Regions from separate parts of the Homo sapiens genome. Here region 1 is linked to region 2. The links are contacts of gene promoters, found by promoter capture Hi-C in blood cells and fetal thymus (Javierre and others, 2016). All regions are on one chromosome and are shown on one strand. The core of a region is centred on a gene start or on the middle of the fragment in contact, and the rest is flanking DNA. Distances in the headings are between cores, read along the strand shown.

Evidence for each region. Contacts are between HindIII fragments. The CHiCAGO score rates a contact against its expected background, and 5 or more counts as called.
Region 1: a fragment that was not itself captured here is called in contact with the fragment with the promoter of COL9A2 in region 2 in 8 of 17 cell types (endothelial precursors, naive B cells, M1 macrophages and 5 more); the score reaches 8.2 in endothelial precursors.

What each region holds. Positions count from the first base shown.
Region 1 is chr1:40,280,867-40,286,013 of GRCh38, reverse strand. ZMPSTE24 (zinc metallopeptidase STE24) reads right to left here. Exons shown (of 10, transcript NM_005857.5): 7 at 4,487-4,671; 8 at 1-89. Among named protein-coding and RNA genes, the nearest start is that of ZMPSTE24, 25 kb to the right of the region's middle. The HindIII fragment of the contact is 308 bases long and covers 3,519-3,826 here.
Region 2 is chr1:40,315,812-40,320,297 of GRCh38, reverse strand. It overlaps COL9A2 (collagen type IX alpha 2 chain), which reads left to right and starts at 3,012. Exons shown (of 32, transcript NM_001852.4): 1 at 3,012-3,175. The coding sequence starts at 3,101. RefSeq lists enhancers at 2,881-3,517, 3,518-4,154 and a silencer at 3,328-3,837. The HindIII fragment of the contact is 22,313 bases long and covers 1-4,486 here.

The DNA.
Region 1 (5,147 bases), core at 2,423-4,922, 35 kb after region 2:
TTTTTGACTGTATGTCCCAACTTCCAGTGCCCCAGTTCATGGCCTAGTACAGCGAGTACCTCCTCATTTTTACATCCTTGTTTCTTATTCTGAATAAAAAAAAATCAAAAATAAATTATTGAGAACCTTTAAAAAGTTTTATCTTTTAACCCAGTAATAGCCCTTCATAGATTTTAACTTAAAGAAATAATCAGTTTTGTTCAAAACTGTTGATTGTCTTAACAAAACATTCCCTGAACCACTGCTCCACATGAGACAGTGGGTTAAGCACTGAAGATAGATAGAATGACGAACAAGATGGACATTCCCAGACTACATAAAGCTCACAGTCTAGACTAACTTAGATTAGGAAAAAAAAAACTGGAAGAAATAGAAATCTTTATAATGGGACAATAGTTAAATAAATCATGATAAAGTTATATGACAGTCACATTATATTACAAAATCATTAGAAATTTTGTTTTCAAAGATTAGGGCCAATTGCAGTGGCTCACGCCTGTAATCTCAACACTTTGGGAAACCGAGGCAGACAGATAACTTGAAGCCAGGAGTTCCAGACTAGCCTGGCCAACATAGCAAAATCCCATCTCTACTAAAAATACAAAATATTGCTGGGCATGGTGGCTCATGCCTGCAATCCCAGCACTTTGAGAGGTCAAGGTGGGTGGATCACGAGGTCAGGAGACCGAGACCAGACTGACCAACATGGTGAAACCCTGTCTCTACCAAAATACAAAAAATTAGCAGGGTATCGTGGTATGCGCCTGTAATTGCAGCTGCTCTGGAGGCTGAGGCAGGAGAATCAGAGGCTGCAGTGAGCTGAGATCACCAGTGAGCTGAGATCACGCCATTGCACTCCAGCCTAGGAGACAGAGCAAGACTCCATCTCAAAATAATAATAATAATAATAATAATAATAAATTAGCCAGGCATGGTGGTGCATGCCTGTAATCCCAGCTACTCAGGAGGCTGAGGCATGAGAACTGCTTGAAACTGGGAGGCGTAGTCTGTAGTGAGCCAAGATCACGCCACTGTACTCCAACCTAGGTGAAAAAGTGAGACTCCATCTCAAAAAAAAAAAAAAAAGGGATGATGTTTTGACATTGGAAAATGATTAGGTGAAGAAAGTAAGACACAAACTAAAAATATATAGTATGATTCTAATTATGAAACAATGTGAATGTGTATATAAAAATATACAAATATAAAAAGTAGACTGAAAGTATATACAAATGTTAACAGTAGTTATTATTATTTATTTTAGATGGAGTTTCACTCTTGTTGCCCAAGCTGGAGTGCAACGGCACGATCTCGGCTCACGGCAACCTCCACCTCCTGGGTTCAAGTGATTCTTGTGCTTCAGCCTCCTGAGTAGCTGGGATTACAGGCGCATGCCACCACACCCGGCTAATTTTTGTATTTTTAGTAGAGACAGGGTTTCACCATGTGAGTCAGGCTGGTCTCGAACTCCTGACTGCAGGTGATCCACCTGCCTTGGCCTCCCAAAGTGCTGGGATTACAGGCATGAGCCGCTGTGTGGGGCCTAGTCCCATTCTCTTACTAAGGAGCAAATAACCAAGGATTTACCAGATATATGAGGTAAGCTGTTAACACAGAAGATCTGATCCACAAAAAAAGCAACATGAAATAAATTATATAAAGAGAAAGTTTAGAAAATTAAGACATTGCACCTAAGAAAAAGTAACGAAATGCTGTAAATTGGAAAATTCAGATAAAAAAATTATTAGAAATCCAAGCTGAAGGCCAGGCATGGTGACTCAAGCCTGTAATGCCAGCACTCTGGGAGGCTGAGGCAGGTGGATCACGAGGTCAGGAGTTTGAGACCAGCCTGGCCAACATGGTGAAACCCCGTCTCTACTAAAGATACCAAAAAAAAAAAAAAAAAAAAAATTAGCTGGGCATGCTGGTGCACACCTGTAATCCCAGCTACTCAGGAGGCTGAGGCAGGAGAATTGCTTGAACCCGGGAGGAGGTTGCAATGAGCTGAGATCGCGCCACTGCACTCCAGCCTGGGCGAGAGGGCAAGACTACATCTCAAAAAAAAAAAAAAAAAGAAAGAAAGTTCAATACAATAAAGGATTGGAAGATGATGAGGGAATTCTAGAAAGCAGAAAGAGATATATTTAAAATGGAAAAGAGGGTTAAAAAGATAGGAGAGTTCAGTATAACAAATCCAGCACTCGAGTAAGAGGAGCCCTGAAAACACAGAATTTAAAAAATGGAGAGGAGAAAAATCAACAAAATAATTTCAGAAAATTTCTTACAACCATAGGACCTCGATTTCCAGAATAAAAGGGCCTAATGCATATATTACAGTGGATGAAAACAGTGTGATGCATATAACATGGTAGATGAAAACAGATCCCCATCAAGGTATGTGAAATTTTAGAACACTGAAACAGAGAAAGATCTAACAAACTTCCAGAAAAGCAAACAAAAACAAAAACAAAAAAAGTAACAAAAGGATCAGCAATTTTTTTTTTTTTTTAAGACAGGGTCTCACTTTGTCACCCAGGCTGGAGTGCAGAGGCAGGATCTCAGTTCACTGTAACCTCCACCTCCCAGGTTCAAGCAACTCTTGTGCCTCAGCCTCCTGAGTACTGGGATTACAGGCGTGCGCTATCATGCCCAACTAATTTTTGTATTTTTTTGTAGAGACAGGGGTTTCGTCATGTTGGCCAGGCTGGTCTCGAACTCCTGGCCTCAAGTTATCTGCCTGTCTTGGCCTTCCAAAGTGCTGGGATTACAGGTATGGGCCACAGTGCCTGACCATAAGCAGATTAACTTTCTAAACTTGCATGATTCTCTAGTGTTATCACTGGGTTATTCTTTCTGGACTTCAGTTTTCCTATTTATAAGATGACTTTAAGATGTCTTCTAATCCCTTCACAGAATTTTATTTCATCTACGTATTTATAACAGGCTAGGTACTTTACTAGAACCTGTTTTTAGTGTCAAAACAGATGCTCAGATGCTAATCATTTTCTGGTACTCTCTACATTTGGGTAGAGAGTACAAGGTATTTCACACATATTATTTCATTTAATCTTCAAAACCCTAAAATGTAGGTATCTTTAGCCTAGTATTTCTCAACCAGGGGAGACTCGGCCCCACCGCTACCTTTAGGGGACATCTGGCAATATTCTGAGACATTTTTGTTGTTACAATTTGTAGAGGTTGTAGGGGAAATGGCCCCTAGTGGGGAGAGACCAGGGATGCTGCTAAACATCCTGTGATGCACAAGATACCTCCCACAACAAAAAAATTATCTGGCTCAAAAAAATAGCGTGGGGCTTGAGAAACCCTACTGGCCTCATCTTTCAGTTAAGAAATCAAAGATTTAGAAAGCTTGGCGGGGTGCGGTGGCACACGCCTATAATCCCAGCACTTTGGGAGGCCAAGGCAGGCGGGTAACTTGAGGCCAGCAGTTCGACCAGCCTGGAAAACATAACAAGACCTCATCTCAAAATAAATAAATACATAAATAAATGAAAGCTTAACTTACTTGCACAGAGTTACACAGACAGTGAGTGAACAGGCATCTAAAATCATCTCTGTATGACACCAAAGGCAATGGCACATTCCATCACACATACAAATACTGATGATCATTTCTGACAGTTTGTATTGTTTCTTATCATTGTCCCCTCTCCCCCATTTAGTCTTGATACTTTAAATTCTGCTAATCAATATCAGTCAATCTTATCCACGAAAAGGATTCAGAAGCAGCTTTCTCAGACTCTCATGTCAGATTTGAGAAATGTCTTTTCTTGTGCTCCAGTTACTATATCTAGAATCTAAAGCTTGACAGTAGCAATTCACGTATTGTACTGTGATTGCATGACTATTTCCCCTTTAGACTGTAAGCTTAAGAGGAAGGTATTCCTTTTTATTTTTGTGTACCTAGTGCCAAGTAAAGTCTCTCAGCACAGAGTATACATTTCATAAATGGGTGTTAAACAAATAAAACAGACTAAATTACACAACGTATCCAAGGATACAAAGCTACTAAATGACAGAACCAGGATTCAAATCCAAGTCTCTCCATTGCCAAAGCCTACAATTACTGTCTTAATAAAGCTAAAAATTAGATGTTTATCTTCTCTTTATCTTGCTTGTGGGAATTCTTTGATCATAAACACATAAGAAATTATATATATATATACACACACATATATATATATACACACAAGTTCCTGTTTTAAAGATAGCTTATAATCATATGAATTTTCTTATAAGAGCTTCCAATTTTAATATCCACATTCTATAAAAGCTTGCAAGGTAGTTAGCATGTAATAATAGTGGTGATCTCTCCTAAATACCAGAACTATAAAGGAGCCATGGTTTTCATCTGATAGTCTCCCTGAATTCAACACTCACTGCCTAGAAATTGATGTTATTTTGAGTTGTCACAGGAACTGTGTATAAAAACTAAGGTAGAATCTCTTAGGAAAAAATAACTCACTTTAACTTTAGCTTTTATTTCTTCACTGTTCCCTTCTTCCTCATTGCGGGGTTCCATGCCAGAATCCTCCTGGATGTCTTTGTTTAGTACAGAGTACTCTTCTAGTAGAGTGTCAAACAAAACTATTCGCTTGTTCTTGAAGAAGCCATAAAAATAAGCATTGCTGTGGGAAGAGCGTTTAGATCCTAAGGAAAAGACAGTTCAAAGCATGGAATATAATTAAAAAGTTTGGGGTCCTTTGGAGAGACTCCTAGAAATTGAATTACTGGAAAGGACATTAACATTTTCAAATCATTTAATATGTGAAGAAAAATCATATCAACATAATTCACCACCAGCAGTGGAGAGTGTCTGTTTTTTGCCAATAAATGTGCTCATCACAGCTTTATAGCAGTAAGTAAATAAGTAAAGCCTAAACATCCAACAGTTACAAATGATTCAATTATAGTAAAACTATGAAATGGAATTTTAAGCTGCCAGAAAAAAATTATACTTCCAAAGAATTTTAACAAGAAAAAGCTCACCAATATATTGTGAAGGATACAAAACTTCACGTATATCAGGTTCCATTATCGTCAAGAAAAAATGTGCATGTATTAGGTTGGTGCAAAAGTAATTGCGGTTTTTGCATTGTTGAAATTTGCTGTTTGATATTGGAATA
Region 2 (4,486 bases), core at 1,763-4,262:
TCCAGCCTGGGCAACAGAGCAAGACTCTGTCTCAAAGTAAAATAAAATAAAATAAAAAATTAGCTGGGTGCAGCGGTGCATGCCTGTAGTCCCAGCTACTCAGGAGGCTGAAGTGGGAGGATCAGGAGCCCAGGAACTTGAGGCTACAGTGAGTGGTGATTCCTCCATTGCACTTCAGCCTAGGTGACAGAGGGAGACCTTGTCTCAAAAGTAAGAAAGAAAGAAAGACATAAATAAATAAATTTTATCCCTTATTCTCTTCTTAAAATGTGACACTGGCTGGGCGCGGTGGCTCATGCCTGTAATCCCAGCACTTTGGGAAGACAAAGCGGGCAGATCACGAGGCGGGCGGATCATGAGGTCAGGAGTTCGAGACCAGCCTGACCAACATGATGAAACCTCATCTCTACTAAAAAGACAAAAATTAGCCGGGAGTGGTGGCGTACGCCTGTAATCCCAGCTACTCCAGAGGTTGGGGCAGGAGAATCGTTTGAATCCAGGAGGCGGAGGTTGCAGTGAGCTGAGATTGCGCCACTGCACTCCAGCCTGGGTGACAGGGCAAGACTCCATCTCAAAAAAAAAATTAAAAAATGTGACATTAACATTCATCCTTGAGGTGGGGTCTCTGTTCCCTCCCCTTGATCATGGGCAGACCTTTGCAATTGCCTCAACAGTAAGAATGTGGTGAAGGTGCCACTGCATGACTTCCAAGGACGGGTCCTGAGTGGCAATTCTCTTCAGTCTGGTGCTCTCCTACTCCCTCTGAGCTGCTATAGAGGATGTTCAGCTACCTTGAAGCTGCCATGTTGGAGAAACTTCATGGAAAGCCCACAAAGAGATAAAGGAGAGAACTGTCCAAGCAACTCCAGCTGTTCCGGCCCCAGCGGTTGAAGGCTTCCCAGTACTGACATCAGACATGTGAGTGAAGAAGCCTTCTAGGTGACATCAGGCCCAGCCACCATCTGACTATGACCTTATAACAGACCCCAGGCCAGACCGAACCAGCAGAGTCACTCTCAAATTCCTAATCCAAAGAAATTGTCATTTTAAGCTGCTGAATGTTAGGGTGATTTGTTATGGTGCAACAGGTAATTAATACATCAATGTGTGCTGTCCAGACTGTGAAACTCATCCTCTTTCCATAATTTCCACACACAAAAAGAAAACTTACTCACACAAGGCCTTTCTTGTGGTTAGCCCACAAAAGATGGAGAGATAAGTGATGTGAAACAAACAACTTAAAATTGAATTTGGACATCCCAGTTCTAAAAATCCTTTATAGGTTTACCCCACCCACCCCAAGCAATGCCCACCATCCCTCTCTTACATCCTCCTCCTCTTGCTCTCATCTTCCAACAAACTTCAAATTCTTCTTCACTCTGTTAGGCAGAGCAATTACATTCTCTCAAGCTCTTTCTCCCAAACTCAGCTCCAGGACAACCTTTCAAAATCCAGAGCCCTTTGCTAACCTGCCCAATGGAGTTGGACTTTTCTAGCTTCAACTAGGTTCATCATTTTAGCTGATCTGCCTGTGGCCAGCTTCCCCACATTGGATGCCAACCTAGTAAAACAGTCATCCATAAATCATAAGGAAAGCTAAAATGTATCAAGCACCTACTATGTGCTGGTTCGAGGTTAAATGCCTCGCATGAGTCATCTCATTCAATTTCCACAAAAACCCTTTAAGATAAGGACAATTTGCTGGGCACGGTGGCTCATGCCTGTAATCCCAACACTTTGGGAGGCTGAGGCAGGCAGATCACCTGAAGTCAGGAGTTCAAGAGCAGTCTGGCCAACATGGCGAAACCCCATCTCTACTAAAAATATAAAAATTAGCCAGGCATTGTGGCTCATGCCTGTAATTCCAGCTACTCGAGAGGCTGAGGCAGGGGAATCATTTGAACCCGCGAGGCGAGGTTGCAGTTAGCTGACATCGTGCCACTGCACTCCAGAGCCTTTTAAGACTCTGTCTTAAAAAAAAAATATATATATATATATATATGGACTATTAGTATCCCCATTTTACAGATGAGGAAAATGAGACTTCATAGAGTTTGGGGTGCCTGTGGTCATATCTATAATTGTGAAAAAGTCAGATTCCAAAGCATTTTACCAATATTGCCTAAGTGAGTGGGAGGGAAGGGAAGGCTCTCTGGAGTCGGGCTATGCTGGACAGCGGGGTTCGGAAACTCTGGTGAATAAAGTGGTAGTTGTTTCTATGAACATGGAGTGAGAAGGCCCAATCCTAAACACACCAGTGCTTAAGGCAGCTGCAGAGAATTAAAGGCAATAGAAAAAGGGGAGCTGGATGGCAGGAGCTTGGATGGGGAAGACTTCAAGGGCAGGTGAAGATGCCAACAGCTTCCTGCCTGGAGGACCGAAGAAGGGTTGGGCTTCACTGCAGACCTCCAGGAGACAGATTTGCTTGTTGGGACAGAGTAGGGAGGTGAAAGCGAGGTGAGGAAGTTCGGGGGTGGGGGAGGTGCACACAGCTCCACTAAAGAGCTGGAAGAGGCCGATGGAGTATTCATGAGACGGCTGATCCAGGAAGGACTGTGGCATATTAATATGGAAAAGGCCTGTTTGTTTGTGCTTGGAGAGGAAGGAGCCAGAGGAGAGGGGAGCAAGGTGGGCGGGAGCTGGGGAGAGCCTGCAGCAAGATCTGCAGAGCCCGAGGTGCTCTCGGCCTGGGCCCTGGAGAGGACGTAGGGTAAGTGATGGGGCACAGGCTGTGCGTCAGGGGGAAGGTGCTGGGGCCTGAAGGTCCCGAGGGGAACCTCAGACGGCCTTATGCCTTCTCACAAAGAAACTGGACCATCATCTCCGACCCGCACCCCGGTCGCCCCTCGAGGACAGAGGGTGGGCGCAGGAGGCTGGACCGAGCGGGGCGGAGCTGGATGCCTGGCGCCGGCCTCCCTCCCGGCAACCCCGCCGGTCCTCTCAGGTGACAGCTCACGCCGGCCCCCGCCCCGCCCCCCGCATATTCAGGAGCCCCAGCCCACCCTGCCCGCGAACAGCCAGCGCTGGAGGAGCGCCGGGAGACTCTGCCGTCGGTGCGTGCGCGGACACGCACCCGTCCCCCTTGGTCTCGCCGCCAGCCATGGCCGCCGCTACGGCCTCCCCCCGCAGCCTCCTTGTTCTCCTCCAGGTGGTAGTGCTCGCTCTGGCGCAGATTGTAAGTTTCGCAGCCCCTCCGCTGCCAGGGTCCAGGGTGCGGGGTCTGGAGTCCGGGATGGAGGAGCTCTGCCTGTGTCCCGCGCCTACTGACACCCCTAGCCCGAGAGGCCACCTGAGGACAGCGCCGCGGGCAGGTCCCCTCGGTGGGTGCATACATGGTGCCCATCGCGGCACCGTGAATGGAGGTGGCTGAGCCGGAGAGTCAAACGGGACCCGTCCCCAGACGCGCGGCCCGGCCCGGGACAGGCAGCGTGGGGCAGGAGCTGGCGCCCGGTCCTGGCAGCCCGGGGAGCCCAGGTGGCGGGGCATACAATGGTGCTCATTCACCCGCTGCGCAGCCTCCGCCCCCGCCGCCTCCCAGGGGGCGCCGGCTCCAACCAGACGCCGCTGTCGCCCCGAGGCGGCCTCTCGGCCCTGCCCGCCTACCCACGTCTCCCTTCCGAGGGCCGCCGGGGGCTGCGGGCGCGCGGGTAGGGCAGAGACTGGGCCCGGTCGGGTGCTGGGTGTGGTTTCGAGCTCGCCTGCGGGGCGCCAGCCTGGCACTTCGCGGCCTGGGGAGGTCGTGGGCACCGGGACCCCTGCCTGGGTCCGAGCTGGCCTCTTAAAAGGGCCGCCTTTTAAGATCTCTGATCTGTTCAGAGATGGGCAGCAGGATGGAGACTCTCCAGCTGTGAGCTCGCCTCATCTTGATATGACTTGTGACCTCCCTGAAACCTCACACCCACCCAGGGGCATTGAATTGCAGGCAAACGGGATCCAGAGAGAGGGTCTGCTTTCTGGGAGGTGCCGGCTCCTCCTGCTCCCCTGCAGCAGTCAGGGCTTAGCAGAGGGAGGACCGGGCAGCTGTGCTGCCGAAGGGGCGCTCCGAGTGGGAAGATAGTACCCGCTTCACCTCCCTACACCTCCTTTCTCTGCGCCTCCCCCACTTTCCCGTCGGGTTTTCCCGCACCATGGGGAGAGGAGGAGGCGCTGTCTCTGCCTGTCGTTCACGTAAGAACAACAACCCGAGCCACCGCTCACTGAGGGCCGGCAGCCTGCTAGGCACAACCTTACATTCCATCTGTGATTTATTTGAGCTGTCCACGTCTCCATCTATTCCCCACCGCGACCGCGCAAGGGCAAACTGGCACAGTGGAAGGAGTCGGGCAGATCCAGGGCGGACTCCTGGCGCCGCCGCCCACTCTCAGTGACCATGGACCCTTCACGTTCTGAGCCAGTTTCTTCGACTGCAAACTGGGGCCCGTAATAGCGCCCGCCTCCCGGTTCTGAGTATTCTGTAAGATAATGAATGCATGTAATGGCACACAGT